2 separate regions of the Homo sapiens genome follow, and region 2 is linked to region 1. Evidence: promoter capture Hi-C in 16 types of primary human blood cells and fetal thymus (Javierre and others, 2016). All regions are on one chromosome and are shown on one strand. The core of a region is centred on a gene start or on the middle of the fragment in contact, and the rest is flanking DNA. Distances in the headings are between cores, read along the strand shown.

Region 1 (5,127 bases), core at 1,364-3,863:
CGTCTCTACTAAATCTACAAAAATTAGCCAGGTATGGTGGTGCACGCCTGTAGTCCCAGCTACTCGGGAGGCTGAGGCAAGAGAATTGCTTGAACCCAGGAGGCAGAAGTTTCAGTGAGCCAAGATCGTGCCACTGTACTCCAGCCAGGCAACAGAGCGAGACTCTGTCTCAAAAAAATAAAAAAATAAAAAATTTAAAATTAAAATACATTTTAACTTACTGATCAAACAGTACATCCAAAAGAAAATTGGAACCTGTATAAAATAAAAATTAAAAAAGCAGTTTGACTCAATAGGCTGCACTCATTTCAGGGCTAACACTGGAAGGTTATTCACTATGGGTCCCTATGTTATAACCAAAAAAGGTATCTGCCAGGAAGTCTTTGTGTCTTCAGAGGAGTCAGTTTGTCTGTATCCATATCCAGTGTCTTCCTTTCTGCCATGGTTGTTGGAAACATAAGAAACACATGAAGCTCAACTTATTGACTCTAACTTGGCCCTGCTATTGATCTGTTACTTTATATTTTCTGGGAAGTTCAATTTTTATCTATTACTAATTTCTCATCTTAACATATTGACTCTTGGCCAGGCACGGTGGCTCACACTTGTAATCCCAACACTTTGGGAGGCCGAGGCGGGCGGATTGCCTGAGCTCAGGAGTTTGCGACCAGCCAGGGCAACACGGTGAACACATCTCTATTAAAATGCAAAAAATTAGCCAGGCGTGGCGGCCTGCGCCTGTAGTCCCAGCCAATCGGGAGGCTGAGGCAGGTGAATTGCTTGAACCCAGGAGGCAGAGGTTGCAAGGTTGCAGTGAACAGAGATGGAGACACTGCGCTCCAGCCTGGGCGACAGAGCGAGACTCCATGTCACAAACAAAACAAAACAAAAAAACCATACTGACTCTTACAAATCTCACAAAGTCCACCGCAAAATAAAGTAGGGAATTAATAAACAACTTACCTTGTTCATTTTGTTCTGTTCTTGGAAAGACGGAGACAACTCTGAAGATACAGCTGAGTTGGAAAAAGAGGAATGGGGTCATGAAAGATTTGGCCTGCCTGGCAACTCCCGGATTCTTCTGCCCTAAGAAGCCATACACACCCACTAGGTAAAATGCTCCGTCTGGGAGAATATCAATGTCCTCTGACACTTCGGAATAGGGGGTAGAAATGGTGAAAGAACACCCTAATACAACTCCAACATAACCATGTAGCTCTTGGGCACAAGATTTTTCATCAGGTGAAAGTAAATATTTGCTTCCTAAGGATTTCAATCTCCCTCAGTCTTCACAAAAAATGTATAATGACAATATTGGCCAAACAAGTTAACAATACATTTAATGAAAAAACATTAACACTAAAACCATTGTAAAGAATAGGACTAGGCTATCGATTTTCCCAGTAATGTTACTTAACCTCTGATGAGTTAGTCCACAGAAAACCATAAGCGTCAGTGCTTCAAAGAAAAAATCCGTTTTAATTTCTTCATCTAACTTTGTTGCTATTTCTCAAAAGGATGTTTTAAACTTGCTTTGATGTGTGTAGAAAAGTAGTACTGGCTTAGGGGTCAGGAGAAGTGACTTTTAGTTCTCCCTACTAACAAACTTTGATCCTGAACAAGTCAGTAACCTTGACAAACAAAAAACAAAAAAATTATTTTTTCTTCTAACAAATGAGGCAAAATTAGGTAATTCTGGTTTTTTGTTTGTTTGTTTGTTTTTGAGACGGAGTTTCGTTCTTGTTGCCCAGTCTGGAGTGCAATGGTGCAATCTCAGCTACCTGCAACCTCCGCCTCCCGGGTTCAAGCATTTCTCTGCCTCAGTAGCTGGGATTACAGTCATAGGCCACCACGCATGGCTACTTTTAGTATTTTTAGTAGAGACGGGGATTTGCCATGTTGGTCAGGCTGGTCTCGAATTCCTGACCTCAGGTGATCCACCCTCCTCGGCCTCCCAAAGTGCAGGATTACAGGAGAGAGCCACCGCGCTAGGCCAAAATTATGTAATTCTTGAAGATCCTTCCTGAGTGCAAGATCAAGTTAGGACAGAGGAACAGCAAATAACAAGATGGGGTGATGGACATGACTGGAGGGCAGTTCGAAACCTAAAGAGGATGAACGCAGAACGGGCAACAGAGTCCGTATGTCGGGCGGGCGACTGCACCCGCCCTTTCCTACCCAGGTAGGGCCGCGCCCTAGCACATGGGCGTAAACACGCTCAACCAGAGAACTGCCCCTCCCGCAAGGCTCAGCGCTCGGACCGCGCAAGCGCACATGCCCTCCTCCGCGGCCCCTACAAACAGGGCAACGCACAGGGCGTAGCCCGCTCCCTACAGAGGCTGCGCCTTAGAGGAACTGGCGTAGCGTCCTGGTAGACATGCTGCAGCCCCGCCGTCCCCGGCTTCTCCGTGAGGTCCCCGGGACTCCTCGCCACCACCTGGCACTGGCCCCCGGCTGCCTGCTCCTGGAGTCGCGCGGGGCCCCCTCTCCGTCCCTGCCCAACCCGCGGAGGCTTACCTCACTCTCTCTTCGGGTTGCATTCGCCATAAGAGAGCCGGTAGACCCCTGAAATCCCGGGACCGCCTCCCACGCAAAACGTGAGACAAACAAAAGGAAAGGCGGAAACGCAGAAACGCAGAGGTAGCCAGTGGATGAGGCATGCGCAGAGCCCACGCTCAAAGCCTGGCGCTGTTGGCGCCCAACCTGGAAACTACCTTTCCCGTGAGGACGCGAGAGCAGCCCTTCGGGATTGGCAGAGAGGTGCCCCGCTAGGCAGTGGACAGATGCGGTCTGAGTTGGTGTGGGAACTGCCCGCAGCCCTGGCTCTCCCGGGGCGACCCAAAGGGATGCACTGCAGGGGAGGTCTGTGTGCAGCAAGTGTGCAGGTTAGACACAGACGCCTCAAGGAAAGGACAGCTGTGTGTCAGTTTCACTTTAAATGTTAGGAAGTAGATCTTATTGATACAGTTTAAAAGACTTTGACACTATCAGCGATTCTTTGAGAGCAGGGATGGGGGGGATGGGGGAGGTGCCACAGGAAAGCTACTTCATCAAAATCGTTAACGCAATAAACGGAAATTGAAAAGTCAGAAAATAGACATAATCCGAAAGAAGAAAATAAATGTCACATGATTTCCCCTGTGACATTAAAATTGCTTGACTAAATGGAAATACATTTAGTCTATCTGTACCTTTCTTAGGAAGACAAAATTCCTAAAAGAATATCAACAAATTTTTTTATGTATTTTTTCTCTTTGATCTTTAGTGTATTGTGTACTTTACAAAAGCATTGTCAACTTTATCCAGAGTAAGTAAAAAACTAAATGAACAGCCATTATACGTTTTAAAAAGCTTGAAAAAATGCCTGAGAAATATCTATATCTATCTATATATATAATATTGCTCTATTCAAAGTAGTTTGGCACCTGCTCCATGGAAATAAGACACCATGATTGAGAGTATTCTTTAATGTGTAGTAAATACAGCATTTCAAAACAGTGAGGGAAAGAATGGAGTATTCCAAAGAGCATGTCATTCCTAACAATTTGGAATATAGAGATATATATAGATCACACGTGATAAAATTCACATGTATACAGTATTGAAACATTTAAACGAGTATAAATTTTTGAAAATTGACATGTGGGCCAGGCACAGTGGCCCACACCTGTAATCCCAGCAGTTTGGGAGGTGGAGGCAGGAGGACCACTTGATCCTTAGAGTCCAAGACCAGCCTGGGCGTTATAGTGGGACCCCTGTCTCTACAAAAAATTAAAAATAACAATTAGCTGGGCATGTAGGCAGGCGCCTGTGATCCCAGCTACTCAGGAGGCTGAGGTTGGACGATCACTTGAGCCCCAGGTTGCAGTAAGCCATCATGGCACCACTGCACTCCAGCCTGGGTGACAAAGTGAGACTTTGTCTCAAAAAAAACCAAAAAGGGATGTGATACCAAAGACAGAAACTATAAATTTAATATCAGTTACATTTTATAATAGAGAAAAATAAGCAGCTCCATTCCAGCAAAACTTTTTAAGTCCATTATGAGAATTGAAAGAAATGCAAATATGGCCGGGCATGGCAGCTCACGCCTGTAGTCCCAGCATTTTGGGAGGCTGAGGCGGGCAGATCATGAGGTCAAGACATTGAGAACATCCTGCCCAAAATGGTGAAACCCCTTCTGTACTAAAAATACAAAAATTAGCTGGACGTGGTGGTGCGCACCTGTAGTCCCAGCTAGTCAGGAGGCTGAGGCAGGAGAATCGCTTGAACCCGGGAGGTGGAGGTTGCAGTGAGCCAAGATCGCACTACTACACTCCAGCCTGGTGACAGAGTGAGACTGCATCTCAAAAAAGAAAAAAAGAAAAAAGGAAATGCAAATATTTGAGTAAAAATATGTGAAACATATTGAAATTTACATTTTTAAATTTATGCTTTATATACTGAAAAGTTCACTTTATTTGTTGCATAATTTTATGAGTTTTGACAAACGCACAGATTTGTGTAACCACCACCACAAGCAAGATACAAAATTATTTCACCTGTCAATAAAATTCCTCCATGCTACCTTTTGAAAGTCAGATTCTCTAACCACTCTTAGCCTCTTGCAGCCACTATCTAGTCTTTGGGCCTGTATGTTTGCCTTTTTTAGAATATTATATAAATGGAATCATACAATATGCAGTCTTTGAATCTGGTATCTTTTACTTAACACAATGCAATTGAGATCCTTCCGTGTTGTTTTGTGTACCAATACTTCTGTTTTTCTTGCTGTTAGAAACAAGTGCCTGGTGCCGCAGAGAAAACCAGCACAAAGGCAGAAAATTCCTCAGCAAGAGAAATTTACTTCTGCAGAAGGGTGCAGGTTATGCCAGTCATGATCACAAGAGAACACCGAGAAGGGCAGGGCAGGGGTTTTTATCCCTGATGCAGTTCCTAGCACTTCTGTGTCCCTTCCCCATTGGCTGGGATTAGACCTCACAATCAAAGCTAACTCGATTGGCTAAGGTTTAAAATTGACAGGGTCTATTAGGCGGGAAGGAAGGGGGACTGTCCATTACTAAGCGGGAAGGCATATCCGGACTTGTCTGGGCATGGCAAAGGCGGGAAGGTTGTTTACAGAACAGG
Region 2 (5,127 bases), core at 789-3,288, 7.0 Mb before region 1:
GTGGTCTCGTAGCGCACGTGCTGCTCCACCGCGCCCAGCTCCTCGTACTCGCCGCGCCCGCCCGGGCCGCCCGCGCCCGCGCCCGCCGCGCCCGCGCCCGCCGCCGCGCCGCCCGCGCCCCCAGCGCCCCCCGCGCCCGGCGCGCCACCGCTGCACGCCACCTTCTCGTGGCCCGCCACCAGGCGCACTAGGTAGCCCACCGACACGAAGAGGTAGCAGGCCGAGAGGAAGATAATGGGCCGCTCCGGGTACTTGAAGCGCTCCATGTCGATAAGGAAGGTGGAGACGGTGGCGAAGGTGGACACGAAGCAGAGCACCGACCACAGGCCGATCCAGAAGACGGTGAAGGCGCGCTCGTCCTGGCTGAAAAAGGGGTTGTGGCAGGGCAGCGCGCAGTTAGCGATCTGGCCTGTCTTGACGCGGTTGTAGAGCGGGTGGCGCTCGCTGGACACGCTCACCATAGGCGCGCGGCACTGGCACCCGGGCTCGCAGGGAGCCGCGCCGCCGCCAGGGGGCCGCGCCTTCCCGCCACCGCCGCCGCCGCGAGCTGGGGGCGCCGCCGCGTCCCCGCCGCCACCGCCCCTGCCGCCGCCGCGGTGCGGGGGCCTGGCCCCCGGCGGGCGGCCGTGGCCGCTGCCCGAAGGCGGCTGCTCGCCGGGCGGCGGCGGCGGCAGGCGGCGCGGCGGGCTGGGCGCGGCGGTGGTTAGGTCGGTGCGGTTGTAGTCCATGCACAGCGTGTCAGGGTTGCCTTGCTCGGGCAGCCGGTCGCAGCGCATGCGGTCGGGCCAGGCGAAGCCGTACTGGCGCATGAGCGGCGCGCAGCCGGCCTTGGCGCGCTCGCACACCGAGCGGCAGGGCGGCAGCGGCTTCTTGTAGTCCTCTAGGCAGATGGGCGTGTACATGCTGCACAGGAAGAACTTGAGATCGGGCGAGCACTGGATCTCCACCAGCGGCCAGAACTGGTGCACCTCCAGGCCCGCCTCGTCTTGCGTGTCGTGGTTGAACTGATTGGGCATGTAGGTGTAGTTGTAGCCGATGCCCTTACACAGCGGCACGGTGATCTCTTGGCATGCCAGCTCCTTGGCCGAGGCGGCCGCAGCGCCGCTAGAGCGCTGCAGCAGCGCCAAGGCGGCCAGCAGCGAGGTCACTTCCAACAGGTAACCCCACTCCATGCTGTGCGCCTCGGCCCGGTGCCCTCGCCCTCCAGGCGGCGCGCAGAGGGGTGCCGGGGGGGGGGCCCACGAGAGAGCCGCAGACGGGTACAGCGGGTGATCTGGGGTCTCCCTTATGCTTCGCCCGGGAGGGGGGTCTGCCGATAATCTAACCCCTTCTAGGGGCGCGTCCGCAGCGGCGCGGCCCGCAGCCTGGGCAGGGCCCTTCCGCACTCCTTTCCGCCGCTCCGGGGGTTTGAAGGCGGCTGCAGGCGCGCGCCACAGTCCGTAGGTCCGCTCTGCTGGCCCCGGGTCGCGCTCAGCCCTCGCGGCGCAGAGCGGCCGGGCCTCGGCTCATCGTCCCGCGCTCGCTCGCCTCCTCTCCGCGCGCCCGACCACTTCTCCCCGCCGCGCCGGGCGGCGGTGACTCCGCCGGACAGAGAGGGCGGAGGCGCCGCAAGTTTCCTCTGGGGCCGCGGTGCGCAGTCAAGATGGCTGGGCCGGGCCGCTTGCCGCGCCGGGTCAGCCCTGGCGGCCACCACTCGGCCCCCGGGGGCTCATGCCCGCCCCCAAGGCCAAGCCGCCGCCGCCGCCGCCGGAGTTGGGGACCCGCCTCGGCCCAGGCCGCCGCCCTCTTTCTCCGGCGTCCGTCCTTCGTCCGTCCGCCGCCGGGACAGACGGACCCCCGCCGCCTGGAAAAGTCAGCGCCGCGCTCCGGCCGCAGTCGGGCGAGGTGCACACAGTCTCCTTCCTGCTGGACACCCAGGAGCAAATCCAGACCGGAAGGCGGAGCGGACACCTGAGTGGCGCGGCCCGCGCCCAGCCGCCGCCTCCTCCTCGGCGGGAGCAGCGCCCTTAGCCCAACTTCCCGGCTCCAGCCCCGCTCGCGCCGCGCTGCCGGCTCATGAATATTTATACAGCGCGGACTCGGTCTCCGCCCCCAGCCCCGCGAGCCAATCGCCGGGCGGTAGGGCGGAGTCCACGCGCTCCCAGGGCTCAGCCTTCCTTAAGGCAGTCCCCGAGTGTCCGCACTGCTGTGCGCGCTCTCTGCGGATGGAGAGTTTTGGTAACCTTGGGATTGACCGCAGAGACAGAGTGTTGGCCATGGCTGTCCCCATGGCGCTGAGTGCGTCGGAGGTCTTGGTCCCCTTACCCCGAGTCTGCCCTTGGGGACAGGGACGGGGTTTGGTGCAGCGCGCGCCTCCCCGGCGCGTTTCAAACCAGCCAAGCCCCTGCTGCCACCCTCCGCAAATGTGGGTGATCTGCAGGCGGCTGGGGTCTCGTGCTCCTCGGGGCGGCAGGAAGGTCTCGCAGCAGGCGAGCGCCGGGGAGGCCTGCCGGGGCTCGGCGCTGCAGAAGACCCGGGAAAGGGTGTCCTCCTTGGGGTTCTCAGAACGATGGTTTCTGAGACTTGGAGATGTGGGGGGTGTGGAGTCATTCTAAACTGGGGCTGGACCCGGGACGGCCCGGGTGAGATGCCCCGGAGCCCAGCCTTGGGCGCGCGAGGGGCGCGGGGGACAAATGCCCGCCAGAGACTCTCCTCCCGCCTCCGCTGCGTGACCTGGGGGAGCCTCAGTTTCCCCACCTAGAGAGTTGGGTGATCATAGCACAGATCTCCAAGGGGGCTTTGATAATTAGGTGAGATAAAATATAGGAAGCCCCGAGCCGCCGTGCTTTCTTAGGAAAAATCATTCAATTTCTTTCTAAAATTCAAAACAAACCTCGAAACTTATAAATAGGACAGGCTGGAAACTCTGGGGCTGGATTCCCTGTCTTCCCTTCGTTCTTTCAGGACGTCTATTCATCCATCCCAAGTTCACAGGCTTTTGCCAGAGCCTCCTTTTCTCTGGTGGGAGGCGGCGCTGCGCTCTGGCGTGGACTCCGCGACACGTATCTGCTCTCTGCACGAGGCCGGAGCCGGACCCGGGCTGCTTTTAGCAGCCGCTTGGGCCACCGCCAGCGAACGCTGCCCCCGCCGGCTCCGCCGCCACCTTAAGACGGGCCGGGAGGGGGGCTGCGGGCGGCCCGGGCCGGCGGCCTGGCAGGTTCATTTACGCTTGTTAGGGCGTCCCAGGGGGCTGTCTTTCTCCTAGAATGGAGTGTTTATTTTTTAATTGATGTGCTGTTTCATTTAGCGCTTGTATGGAACTCATGCTGGGGCAGTAATTACTGTAATCTCGGGAACAAGCATTTCAGTTAGCCAGGAGGGTGGCAGAATATGTTTCTCTCTCTCTTTCTCTCCCTCCCTCCCGCCTCCTCCCCATCTCCGTCCCCCTCTCTCCCTCTTCCTCCCTGCCTCTCTTCTGTCTTCCCTCTCTCTCTCTCCCCACCTCCTTTCCTTCTCTCTCTCCCCCACCACTTTCTCTCCCCCCTCCTCCTCTTCCCCTCCTCCCTCTCCTTCCTTCCCTCCCTTTTCTCTCCGCTCTCTCACTCTCTTCTTGTTTCAAGATTTTTGCTATTTGCCAGGTTTCATACCGGAACAAGTACAGTTGGAGAACAAAAGTTGCAGAGGGCGTGGGGACAGAGCAAAAGAATTAAAAGTACATTTGAGGCCAGTTCCGGTTTTCGGGGCGCTGCTGGTGGTGGTGGTAGCTCGTGGTTGTCCGTTCAGAAACAACTCTTGTCATAAAACAAAAATAACCAGCAGTATTTGTAGATTGCTTGAGCTGATGGCATCTATGTCTTCCTCCTCCTGCTTTCTGTAGCTCAGTTAGCAACCTCATTATGAAACATATTACAAGTAGACTGTCAGACCGCACCCTGCCCCAGCGCCCCGTTTTTGGCAAGTTCTGTGTTCTAGGCATATCCACCAATCTATAGTTATACCCCCCTATCTTTTTAACTTTTTTAGTTTTAGTCTATAGAGTTGAACCTCTTTATACTGAAAAACAACACTTCCTTCCCACTTTTGTTTTGGAAAAACTAAAGTCCGTAGGAATTCGGAATTCAAAGGCTTCAGAAATATTAGCTGATTCAGCAGAAAACGGGCTATTCAAAAATACAGACTAGACCTTTACTTGATTAAAAAATTTTTTTTCTTTTCTCACCTCCTGCAAATCGGAATTCCCACTTGTATGTTGAATGTAGAAATTCACTATCTCTGCGGTTGGCACCTTGTTTCCAGAGGGCGAGTCTCCAGAACGCATCAGCTGCAGGTAATTGCCAGAGGTTCCAGTGCTGATCTGAGGGCAGCGGTGCAGGCAGAGCCCCAAAGACCAGCAAGGGTGCTGCACTGCCCGCACCACAGATGGGAGGGGCTGGTTTCCAAGAGCAACACAGATGGTGAAAAGTTTCTGTTGCTTTTCTTCCACGGGGAAATGTCAAATAGTGAAGTTTAGAATTACACTACATAAATTTGCTAGAATTGGGTAAAAACAAACTGACATTTGAAAATTGAAATTGAAGCTGAAAATGGTTGATTTTGGCTCTTAATTGGCTTTAAATTTTTTTTCTTTTTTCTTTTGAGACAAGATGAAAAGTTTGATGATGTGGAATGTGGAAATTTTGGGTAAGTATGTTAAGTTTGCATGAGAAAATAAGCAGACTGAAGTTCAGAATTTCAAAAATCATATCAGCTATTTGGGAGATCTTAGTGATTTGTGAGGTTAAAACCAGTTACATAAAAGTCATGACAAATGTACTTTTAATTGAGAGAATATAAGAATCGCATTTTACATCTACTGTTAAATTAAACGGCTACTTGGTAGTCTTTCAGAGAAGGGAGAGACTTCTGTAGCCAATTAGTGCGTAAAAGGTAATGATGGGTTACCTAGAAGTAACCAGAACATATATCAACTTCTATGGCTAAATAATGATATTTTCATTGTATGTAAAGCAGCTGTTTTTTAGGGGAGGGGAAATAGCTTTAGTAGTGACATAAATAATGTAGGGAAGTTTCTAAAGGGATTTCTGAGCAGATGGCTTGTTGCTGAATGGCCTGCAAGCAAATAATGTAAACAGTTGGAATCAGGAATCT

The links. Contacts are between HindIII fragments. The CHiCAGO score rates a contact against its expected background, and 5 or more counts as called.
Region 2: a contact is called between the fragment with the promoter of FZD8 here and the fragment with the promoter of ZNF33B in region 1, in 1 of 17 cell types (total B cells). The highest score is 5.6, in total B cells.

Annotation. Positions count from the first base shown.
Region 1 is chr10:42,635,957-42,641,083 of GRCh38, forward strand. ZNF33B (zinc finger protein 33B) reads right to left here and starts at 2,614. Exons shown (of 5, transcript NM_006955.3): 1 at 2,518-2,614; 2 at 964-1,016. The coding sequence starts at 972. LOC105378268 (a long non-coding RNA gene) reads left to right here and starts at 2,349. Exons shown (of 2, transcript XR_945898.3): 1 at 2,349-2,597. RefSeq lists enhancers at 1,376-2,244, 1,904-2,173 and a silencer at 2,364-2,533. The HindIII fragment of the contact is 7,213 bases long and covers 1-3,349 here.
Region 2 is chr10:35,640,258-35,645,384 of GRCh38, forward strand. FZD8 (frizzled class receptor 8) reads right to left here and starts at 2,039. Exons shown (of 1, transcript NM_031866.3): 1 at 1-2,039. The coding sequence starts at 1,172. LOC124902528 (zinc finger protein 469-like) reads right to left here and starts at 2,589. Exons shown (of 2, transcript XM_047426128.1): 1 at 2,373-2,589; 2 at 1,471-2,156. The coding sequence starts at 2,589. The coding sequence ends at 1,471. MIR4683 (microRNA 4683) reads right to left here and starts at 995; the gene lies at 915-995. LOC105376494 (a long non-coding RNA gene) reads left to right here and starts at 3,058. Exons shown (of 2, transcript XR_930820.3): 1 at 3,058-4,659. RefSeq lists an enhancer at 228-387 and a silencer at 498-587. The HindIII fragment of the contact is 11,239 bases long and covers 1-5,127 here.